Regions from separate parts of the Homo sapiens genome. Here region 1 is linked to region 2. The links are contacts of gene promoters, found by promoter capture Hi-C in blood cells and fetal thymus (Javierre and others, 2016). All regions are on one chromosome and are shown on one strand. Each heading gives the region's core, a stretch centred on a gene start or on the middle of the fragment in contact. The rest is flanking DNA. Distances are from core to core; before and after follow the strand shown. Region 1 holds the start of OR5T1 (olfactory receptor family 5 subfamily T member 1). Region 2 holds the start of OR5T2 (olfactory receptor family 5 subfamily T member 2).

Region 1 (4,793 bases), core at 1,467-3,966, 40 kb before region 2:
AATGAATATTTAATGCAGATTAGTTTAAACATTGTCATAGGCTATGAATACAAGCCATATTTTATACATGATACAATATATTGATATTTCTAAAATGGTGAATTAGTAGGCTGATTGATGCTTTATTTGAAAATATTCTAGAAGTTACAAGCACTGTTAACTAAAAGAAACACATTTTCTTCTCTACTTTCTGACCATAGAGATGTGGACTGACACCCAATATTATTTGCAACTTTACTCAATTTTAAAACTATAACTTATTTATGAACCAATTTCTCACAAGCAATCTTTTGATTGCCTCCTTTACATCTTTGTTCCGCAAACTGTAGATGATGGGATTCAGCATGGGAATCACAATGGTATAAAATATTGACACTATCATGTCATTGTCCGAAGTGTAGCTGGAACTTGGTCTCACATACATGAAGAGGATTGTCCCATGATAAATTGTCACTCCAGTTAGGTGAGCTCCACATGTAGAGAAGACTTTTCTCCTCCCTTCAGCAGACTGCATCTTCAGAATGGCCAACAGAATAAAACCATAGGAGATCAGGACAATCAGGATAGTGACTATCTCAATAGAGCCCACAAAGTAGAAGAATAGAAGCTGGATTACGTGAGTGTCAGAACAAGAAATAGCAAGCAGAGGAGGCATATTACAAAAGACATGCCTAATTTCATTGGATCCACAGAAGGACAGGCTAAATGTAGCCACTGTATGTATAGTAGCATGTAAAATGCTAGCAACATAGGAAGCAGTGATGAGTGGCACATAGACTCTGGGTGACATGCTCACTGAATACAGGAGAGGGTTGTAGATGGCTACATAGCGATCATAAGCCATTGCAGCCAAGAGAAAGCATTCTGTGGTTCCAAAAGTACAAGCAAGAAACATCTGTGTTGCACATCCAAGAAATGAAATAGATTTATTTTTTGCCAGGAAATTGACCAACATTTTTGGAGTGACAACTGTAGAATAGCAGACATCCAAGAATGATAAAACACCAAGAAAATAGTACATTGGGCTGTGAAGCCAGAAATCCCCAATGATCGGTACAACCAGCCCTAAATTGCCTATTAGAGTGAATAGATAGATTGCTAAAAATAATAAAAATAGGAAGACTTGCACATCAAATTCTTCTGTGAAGCTTATTAATATAAACATGGTGACTTCAGTAAAATTGTTTAATTGAAGCTTGTATAGATCCATATCTGAAGGCAACCCTGACATTTTAGCTATTGTTTATATGTACTAAATGCAACAGCCTGTGAAAATTAAGTTTATCCAATTATATCCTCATGTTCGTTTCTTGGAAAAGCAAGATGAAATCCTTGTCAGCAAATGCACAGGTGGTGATAAAATTGGGTCCAAGTGGATACATTACTGTAATTAAATAAATTAAATAAATTATTTTATTCAATCATGCACTAAATTTATCTTTTTAACATGGATGAAGCTGGAAGCCATCATTCTCAGCAAACTATCTCAAGAACCGAAAACCAAACACCGCATGTTCTCACACGTAAGTGGGAGTTGAACAATGAGAACACATGGACATAGGAAGGGGAACATCACACGCCAGGGCCGGTCGGAGGGTGGGAGGCTAGGGGAGGGATAACGTTACGAGAAATACCTAAGGTAGGTGTCGGGTTGATGCGTGCAGCAAACCACCGTGGCACGTGTATACCTATGTAACAAAACTGCACATTCTGCACATGTACCCCAGAACTTAAAGTGTAAAAAAAGTCTATTTAATCAGTTTAATTTCCTGTTCATTTTCCATCAAATGTACTACCATCTATTCTTAATATTAAATTGTTTCAAAACTCATAAAGACTGAGTGCTATTCCTAGGTTTTCTAAAAAGTCCATTGAATTACTTTATTTTTCTCATTTTAAATATGGAAACAATCATATCTACATTATAAGAGTGGGTTGTATTTAAATGGGAAAAACAGTATGTAAGTTATTTAATATTTAAATATGCCCAGATAACTAGAAAATGCAATGTCAGGCTTATATTAAAATTTATCATTTGAGACAGTCTTTCTGACCAAACCATTTCAAATCCTTTTTTTTTTTTTGGCAATTATCCTGCTGTTGCATTAGTACTTACAGAATGGTGGTGGATACAAGAGATTTGATTCTGGAGATAGATGCACCTTGTTTGCAAACCAAAAGAATTTGGTGTTCATTTTTCATTTATTTTTCCTTTTGTGTTTCACTTTTCTTTCCTGAAAAAAATATCACCAATTTGTTCATTTTGGCCTGTGCAGTTTTTTTAAGCATTATTATTTTTCAGATTTTAACTTAAAACCAATATCAGACGTGTCAATTTATATGATCATTTGGTCATTATGCCTGTGAAGTCCTTGGGTGTATTTTTGTGACATATTTATATCAAAAATGAATTATGGCTATCCTTTTACTATGATTCTTACGTAACTTCTGAAATTTCTATAAAATAAATACCATCCAATAACAAGTAATACAATTATTTTTATAAACTGTTGCTAAAACAACACACGTATTCTCTCCTATGATCCTTGGAAAGTATGTGATTCAATTTGTAATACAGCTTCACATTAAACAGAACCCTCTTTCTTATATTTAAATAGTAAGAAATATGTTTTAGTCTTAAATTCAAGGTGAGAGCTTCTTAATATTTTACAAGTGATCAGATTCCTTTTCTCTTACCTTTGGAAATGAACTGCTCACTCAATTCAGGTATGCTATGAATATTGTGCATTTGAATTCTTATACCAGGCCCTTGAGCTCTAGAATTCCACAGGGATGCCCAAAGAAGAAAACACACTAATTCTCTTCTGGGATAAAACAAATTATGATTTTTTTTTTTTTCTGTAGTGAACAAGTAACTGATCTGGAACATGCATTACATGATTCCAATGATCACATAAGTGTACTTTCTACCTAGGTCCAAAATAATCCCCCAGTGGAAAAAAATATGCATATTACTGAAAAAGAAAGCTAATAATACAGGCCATAGTGCTAGCTCTGATTCTAATTATCTACATGCTATCAAATTAATAACTTAAATTCTCTAAAATTCAGTTTCTTCTTGAAATTATAACCTATGAATTATCTGGAAGTCCTATTGTCACATACATAATGAAATAATATGAAAACATAACCTATGACAAGACATATAATCATTTAATAAAGGTTACTATATTTATTTAAATTTGACAGTCCTCTAATTCTAAATGGTATGAGAGAGATTTAACTTCATTGAAAATTTAATAGGCCAGGTGCGGTGGCTCATGCCTGTAATCCCAGCACTTTGGGAGGCCGAGACAGGCAGATCACCTGAGGTCAGGAGTTCGAGAACAGCCTGGCCAACATGGAAAAACCCCATCTCTACTAAAAATACAAAAAATTAGCCGGGCTTGGTGGTGGACGCCTGTAATCCCAGCTACTGGGGAGGCTGAGGCATGAGAATTGCTTGAACCCAGGTGGTAGAGGTTGGCAGTGAGCCGAGACCATGCCACTGCACACTCTAGCCTGGGTGAAAGAGTGAGATTCCATCTCAAAAAAAAAAATTAATAGAGGAGATATTAATGCACATAATTATAAGGTAAATCTATGAATAGAGAATATTAACAGAAGAGTTAGGGCAATATGCAGATGTTCTATGTAATAATTTTCTGTGAACTAGAACATTAGACTCAGATATATGGCAGAGTTAAAGGTCAATTTTTTAAGTTCTGCGAGATCTTTTCTATCTTCAAGAATTGATATACTAATCTATATACTTGTTCTTTGATATGCACATAAGAAATTATCCAAAATGTGATGAAAAATACATGGATGATCAAAAGAATGAAATGACAACAGACTAGGAGAAAATACTTGCAAGGACACATCTGATAAAAGACTGTTATCTAAAATTTACAAAGAACTGTTTAAAACTCAATAGGAACACAAACAACCTGATTTAAAAATGAGTCAAAGACCTTAAAAACCACCTAAAATGGTCAAAAAGGCCGGGTGCAGTGGCTCGCCTGTAGTTCCAGCTTCCAGCCTGAAAGGCAGAGGTTGTAGTGAGCTGAGATTGTGCCTCCGCACGCCAGCGTGGGCGACAGAGCAAGATTCCGTCTCAAAAAAAAAAAAAAATGATTTTAAAAATGAGTCAAAGATACCCCATAAAAGATATACATATGGCATGTAACCATATGAAATTGATGCTCCACATCATAGGTCATCAAGGAAATGCAAAAAAAACAATGATATATCTCTTCATAACTAGAGTGACCAAAATCCCAGAACACAGAAAACAGCAAAAGCTGGCGGTGATGTGCAGCAACAGGAAAACAGGAATTCTCATTCATTACTGGTGGGAATGCAAAATGGTCCAACTACTTTGCAAGACAGTTTGGAAGCTTCTTACAAAGCTAAATTTACTTATAATCCAGTAATCATGCTCCTTGGTGCTTACCCAAAGGAAACAATATCCACACAAAGTTTTGCACATGGATGTTTACAGAAGCTTTATTTATAATTGCCAAAACTTACAAGCAACTAAAATGCTCTTCAGTAAATAAATGTATTAATAAACTGTGGTTTATCCAGATAATGAAATATTATTCAGCTCTAAAAAGAAATGAACTATCAAGTCATAAAAAGACATGGATGAAATTCAAAGGCACATTACTCAGAAAAATAAACACATTTCCAACACCTAGTGAATGAATAAAACAATTGTAGTACATCCATAATATGGAATACTACTCAGTGATAAGTAGGTATAAAATATAATTATCTAGTACAGGAAT
Region 2 (5,023 bases), core at 107-2,606:
CCCTTGTCTTATACCATATAAAATAACCAACCCAAAATGGATTAAAAATTTAAACATAAAACCTGAAACTACAATTTCTAGAAGAAAACATAAGGAAAAACTTTAGGACCTTCAGCTTGGCAGTAACTTGTTGGATGTAACATAAAAATACAAGCAATGACATAAAAAGCCAAGTAACAAAACCAAAATTAGACAAGTAGGGCTACGTCAAAGTCAAAATCTTCTGCACAATGAAGAAAACCATCAGCCAAACAAAAAATATTTGTAAATGATATATCTAATAGGGGATTAATATCAAAATATATAAATTCAATAGCCACAATAACAATAATCTTATTTTAAAACTGGCAAAGGACTTGAATACATTTTTTTTCCAAAGAAGACATACAAATGGCCTTCAGATGTATGAAAAGATGTTCAACATCAGTAGTCATCAGGGAAATTCAAATCTGACACATTTTAAACAGAAGCCAAAGAACTCTATTGATTCAATAAGTAGGAGCATGCAGTGCCTTATTCCGGAATCATTTACTTTTTATTATTAAGTAAATCATCATGGTGCTATTTTGAAACAGAAGATAATTGGGGCATATTCCCCTTGGGACATCTCCTTGGATTTCATCAACAGTCAATTACAAAGATATAAACAATCTAAGTTAGCCATATTCATAGAATACCTAAATCTGCATTTGCTGTTCCACAGGTAAGAGAAAATTTCAGATAATTTGAAGAATATTTCGGCAGCTAGAACCTACAATATCAAGAATAACTATGTTTTTTTTTACTAAACTTTTTAGCTGCTAAACACCAAGAACTAAACACTTCAGTTCTGGACTATTACATATGTGAATCAAGTGTATTCATCAAAATATGATTTATTTAGAGTTATGCCTAAGAATTAAAATCCAACACTTACTAGAAAACAATAAAAAATAGAAAATATTGTATTTGTACTTATAGAGATAAATAAGAGTGCTCCTAATAGAGTATATGCTTGTATTTTTCTTATAGATAAAGATAGTTCAAAGGTCATGAATTTACCAATAAATATCAACAAAGGGCAAAAAAACATTTGACTTATTCATTTATCTGGGGTCTTGTATTTTGAAGTAATAAGGAAAACAATCAATACTTATTTTAAATTTATTTTCTGGCTTTATAATCTAGAAGTCACTTCAGATTGCTACTTATTTTATGTTTCTCTAGATTTAATGGCTTAAAAAATACAAATACATCGAGAATCATGTTTTGCTTTACCTTTATTTCCCTGAGGTCAGCAGAGGGGTAAGAGGAAGAGTGTTCCAGTTGCAGAATGAAGCCATTTATGAGGCCATGAAAAAATGCAAAAATTTCATGTACAATGAGAGAAACCTGGGATTGAATCTTGGCTCTGGAAATTGTTAGCTATGAAAGTTGCTATAAAGGTGAAATAAGGTAATGTACAAGAAATGTCTGTTCTTGCAGCAAGTGCTAAATAAATGCCTGTTATTTAGCAAACTTAGTGTTTCGTTATTACATTCACGATATTTAAAGTTTTCTCCCTTCCATTAAAATTTGTTTCATAAAAATAGATTTGCATTAATTTAAAAAGTTGATTCTATATTATTAAATCTTCAAGAATCATAGTGATTTTCTCTTTATAACTCTGAATCTTTGACTATGTGCTAATATTAACTTAATTTTTACCCAATATAACTTATTTTGGCATCTAGTAGAAATGCCTGTCTCACAAGAAATTTGGTTGAAGTATCTTATTTGCACAAAGCAAAATTAAGACAATTGTAATGTAGAAAATGGAATCATGGTAATTTGCATGTTTATTTTTGGCATAAAATGATCAAGTAATTCACAAAACTTCTTCATTCTCCAAAGAATAATTCAGAGACATTTGAATGAGCAGATGAAAAAAATCATAACTGTTCATTGGATTTAATCTTGATAGAATGTAGAACCAACTTAATTCAGCATATTCTATAATCAAAATTATTTTACATATTATATTTTATTAATGCAATTTTCCTTCAATATTTACTCCAATCTTGTGAACAAACTATTAATGTTCTCATTCTATAGACAAGTAGATATAGCAAATCATTTTGCACAATTGCTACAAGTTCTAAAATTCTGGTATTGTATTCCAATGCTCTGTCCCCTGATACAGTCTCTTGTGTATTTGGATGCCCAAAGATTGTTTAAGCCACTCATTTTTGTGTGTTTTAATATTATTTAATATATAAACAGCTTAATACAATTCAGTGGTAAATTAACCAGTAGACCTGATGATTTTAGAAACAGAATAAGTCCAGCCAACTAATGAACGTCCATTTCTTCCATTTGATTCTGCAGTGAGTGGCATGAACACATGGCTGACCAGTTTGTCACTGTCTTCTGATTCACTACTAGAGAATTATGCACTGCTGAATATATGTCGTACAGTATATACAAGAGCACAGTTAACATCCCCTTGAGTCATGGTGTTGTTCATTCTTTTTGTCATAATATGAACTGTAACTTTATGCATATCTTCAAGTTTGTTCTAGATTTCAACATGAAGAATGTCACTGAAGTTACCTTATTTGTACTGAAGGGCTTCACAGACAATCTTGAACTGCAGACTATCTTCTTCTTCCTGTTTCTAGCAATCTACCTCTTCACTCTCATGGGAAATTTAGGACTGATTTTAGTGGTCATTAGGGATTCCCAGCTCCACAAACCCATGTACTATTTTCTGAGTATGTTGTCTTCTGTGGATGCCTGCTATTCCTCAGTTATTACCCCAAATATGTTAGTAGATTTTACGACAAAGAATAAAGTCATTTCATTCCTTGGATGTGTAGCACAGGTGTTTCTTGCTTGTAGTTTTGGAACCACAGAATGCTTTCTCTTGGCTGCAATGGCTTATGATCGCTATGTAGCCATCTACAACCCTCTCCTGTATTCAGTGAGCATGTCACCCAGAGTCTACATGCCACTCATCAATGCTTCCTATGTTGCTGGCATTTTACATGCTACTATACATACAGTGGCTACATTTAGCCTATCCTTCTGTGGAGCCAATGAAATTAGGCGTGTCTTTTGTGATATCCCTCCTCTCCTTGCTATTTCTTATTCTGACACTCACACAAACCAGCTTCTACTCTTCTACTTTGTGGGCTCTATCGAGCTGGTCACTATCCTGATTGTTCTGATCTCCTATGGTTTGATTCTGTTGGCCATTCTGAAGATGTATTCTGCTGAAGGGAGGAGAAAAGTCTTCTCCACATGTGGAGCTCACCTAACTGGAGTGTCAATTTATTATGGGACAATCCTCTTCATGTATGTGAGACCAAGTTCCAGCTATGCTTCGGACCATGACATGATAGTGTCAATATTTTACACCATTGTGATTCCCTTGCTGAATCCCGTCATCTACAGTTTGAGGAACAAAGATGTAAAAGACTCAATGAAAAAAATGTTTGGGAAAAATCAGGTTATCAATAAAGTATATTTTCATACTAAAAAATAAATTATAAAAGGTGAGGGTGATACTCTGCACCTCAATACCAAGAATGTGTCATTGTGGTGTTATGATATATGTTGGTTTCCATCCAGGGTTCCTGGCTCATAATTCCCATAGCCTTTGTTACAGTCTTTTGTTATAATGTTGGGTGTTATACCTCAGGGGCAGGCCTTTTACCTTCTCCTGCCCTCCTTTCACTTGCACCAAGGCTGGGTTCCAATGTCTGCCTTACTGATTGTGAATCTTAAGACTCTCCCATGAGAGAGTCCCACCCTATACCTTCGGGGAGGGAATGCTGATGCCTTGAAGCTTCCATAGAACCTAGGAGGATAGGGTTCAGTGAGCTTCTGGGGAGCAGAACAAATGGAAGTTCCTAGAGGGTGGCATGGTCAGGGAGGGCATGGAAACTCTGCACCCCTTTCCTTATACTTTGCCCTACACATCCCTTCACCAGTGTCCTTTGCAATATCCTTTTCAATAAGCCAGTAATATGTTTCCCTGAGTTTTGTGAGCTGCTTCAGTAATTTAATGAAACCCAAAGAGGGGGTCATGGGAGATCCAACTTGAAGCAGGTTGGTCAAAGTTTCAGAGACCCGAATTTGTGACTGGTGTTGTCAGGGGGCAGTTTTGGGGACTGAACCCTCAACCTATGGGATCTGACACTATCTCTGGGTAGATAGTGTTGCAACTGAATTAGAGGATACCCAGTTGGTGATTACCACGTGGTGTGGGAGGAAGAAATCCCTACCCATTTGATCACAGAAGTCTTCTGTGTTGATGATTGTTGTGGTATGACAGTAGAGGAAAAACCTGGTTAGCAAGAGTTTTCCCTAGACGATAATAAAAATGTTTAATTTATTAGTGTAATCCTGTTTTTTTTCTTGGACGTTTTAAAATAAAGATCATAAGTGACCCTGTACCTATGCTGTTCTTACATGTAGAAAAATCTGTGTCATCTATTTTCTTTATGTATGTATACATATACATATGTTCACGTATACATGTACATACATGCTGATAGTCATTGATATACACAAAAATGCACATTCACAGGCATTTATGTTTGTAACCTTTACTTAAAAATGTGTATTGTTTTCTTTCATCTCCATATAATGAATATTTTGAATATTTTGCTAAAATATGATTAATACATCTAAATCACACTTCAAAAGTATAAATATAGAGCATATCCTCCCACAGAATATTTCTACATAATACATCTGCATTTATTTTCTCCTGTTTGGAGGCTCTGTCCTCTGATATTATGTGATTCCTTACTTCAAAAGTCAAAATTAAGTTATGGTCATTGATATTCATCATATGTGTGTGCAAAATCATGCAAATGAGGACAGCCCCTGTGTGCATATGTGTGGCGTGTGTGTGCTTGTGTGTATGTTTTAGAATAGAAGAGATCTTTAAACACCACTTAAAATCAGAAAGATTGTTTTCATTCTTTAAAAATTGTAAAGTCTGCATGACAAAAAGTACCAAAAATATAATAAAAAACCAAACTACAGACTTGGG

The links. The method cuts DNA at HindIII sites, captures the fragments that hold promoters and counts their contacts. A CHiCAGO score of 5 or more calls a contact.
Region 1: the fragment with the promoter of OR5T1 here is called in contact with the fragment with the promoter of OR5T2 in region 2 in 13 of 17 cell types (neutrophils, monocytes, naive CD8 T cells and 10 more); the score reaches 13.7 in neutrophils.

What each region holds. Positions count from the first base shown.
Region 1 is chr11:56,272,077-56,276,869 of GRCh38, reverse strand. OR5T1 (olfactory receptor family 5 subfamily T member 1) reads right to left here and starts at 2,716. Exons shown (of 3, transcript NM_001004745.2): 1 at 2,698-2,716; 2 at 2,117-2,234; 3 at 51-1,384. The coding sequence starts at 1,231. The coding sequence ends at 251. The HindIII fragment of the contact is 3,205 bases long and covers 1,198-4,402 here.
Region 2 is chr11:56,230,588-56,235,610 of GRCh38, reverse strand. It overlaps OR5T2 (olfactory receptor family 5 subfamily T member 2), which reads left to right and starts at 1,356. Exons shown (of 2, transcript NM_001004746.4): 1 at 1,356-1,434; 2 at 2,347-4,329. The coding sequence starts at 2,549. The coding sequence ends at 3,505. The HindIII fragment of the contact is 5,726 bases long and covers 1-3,810 here.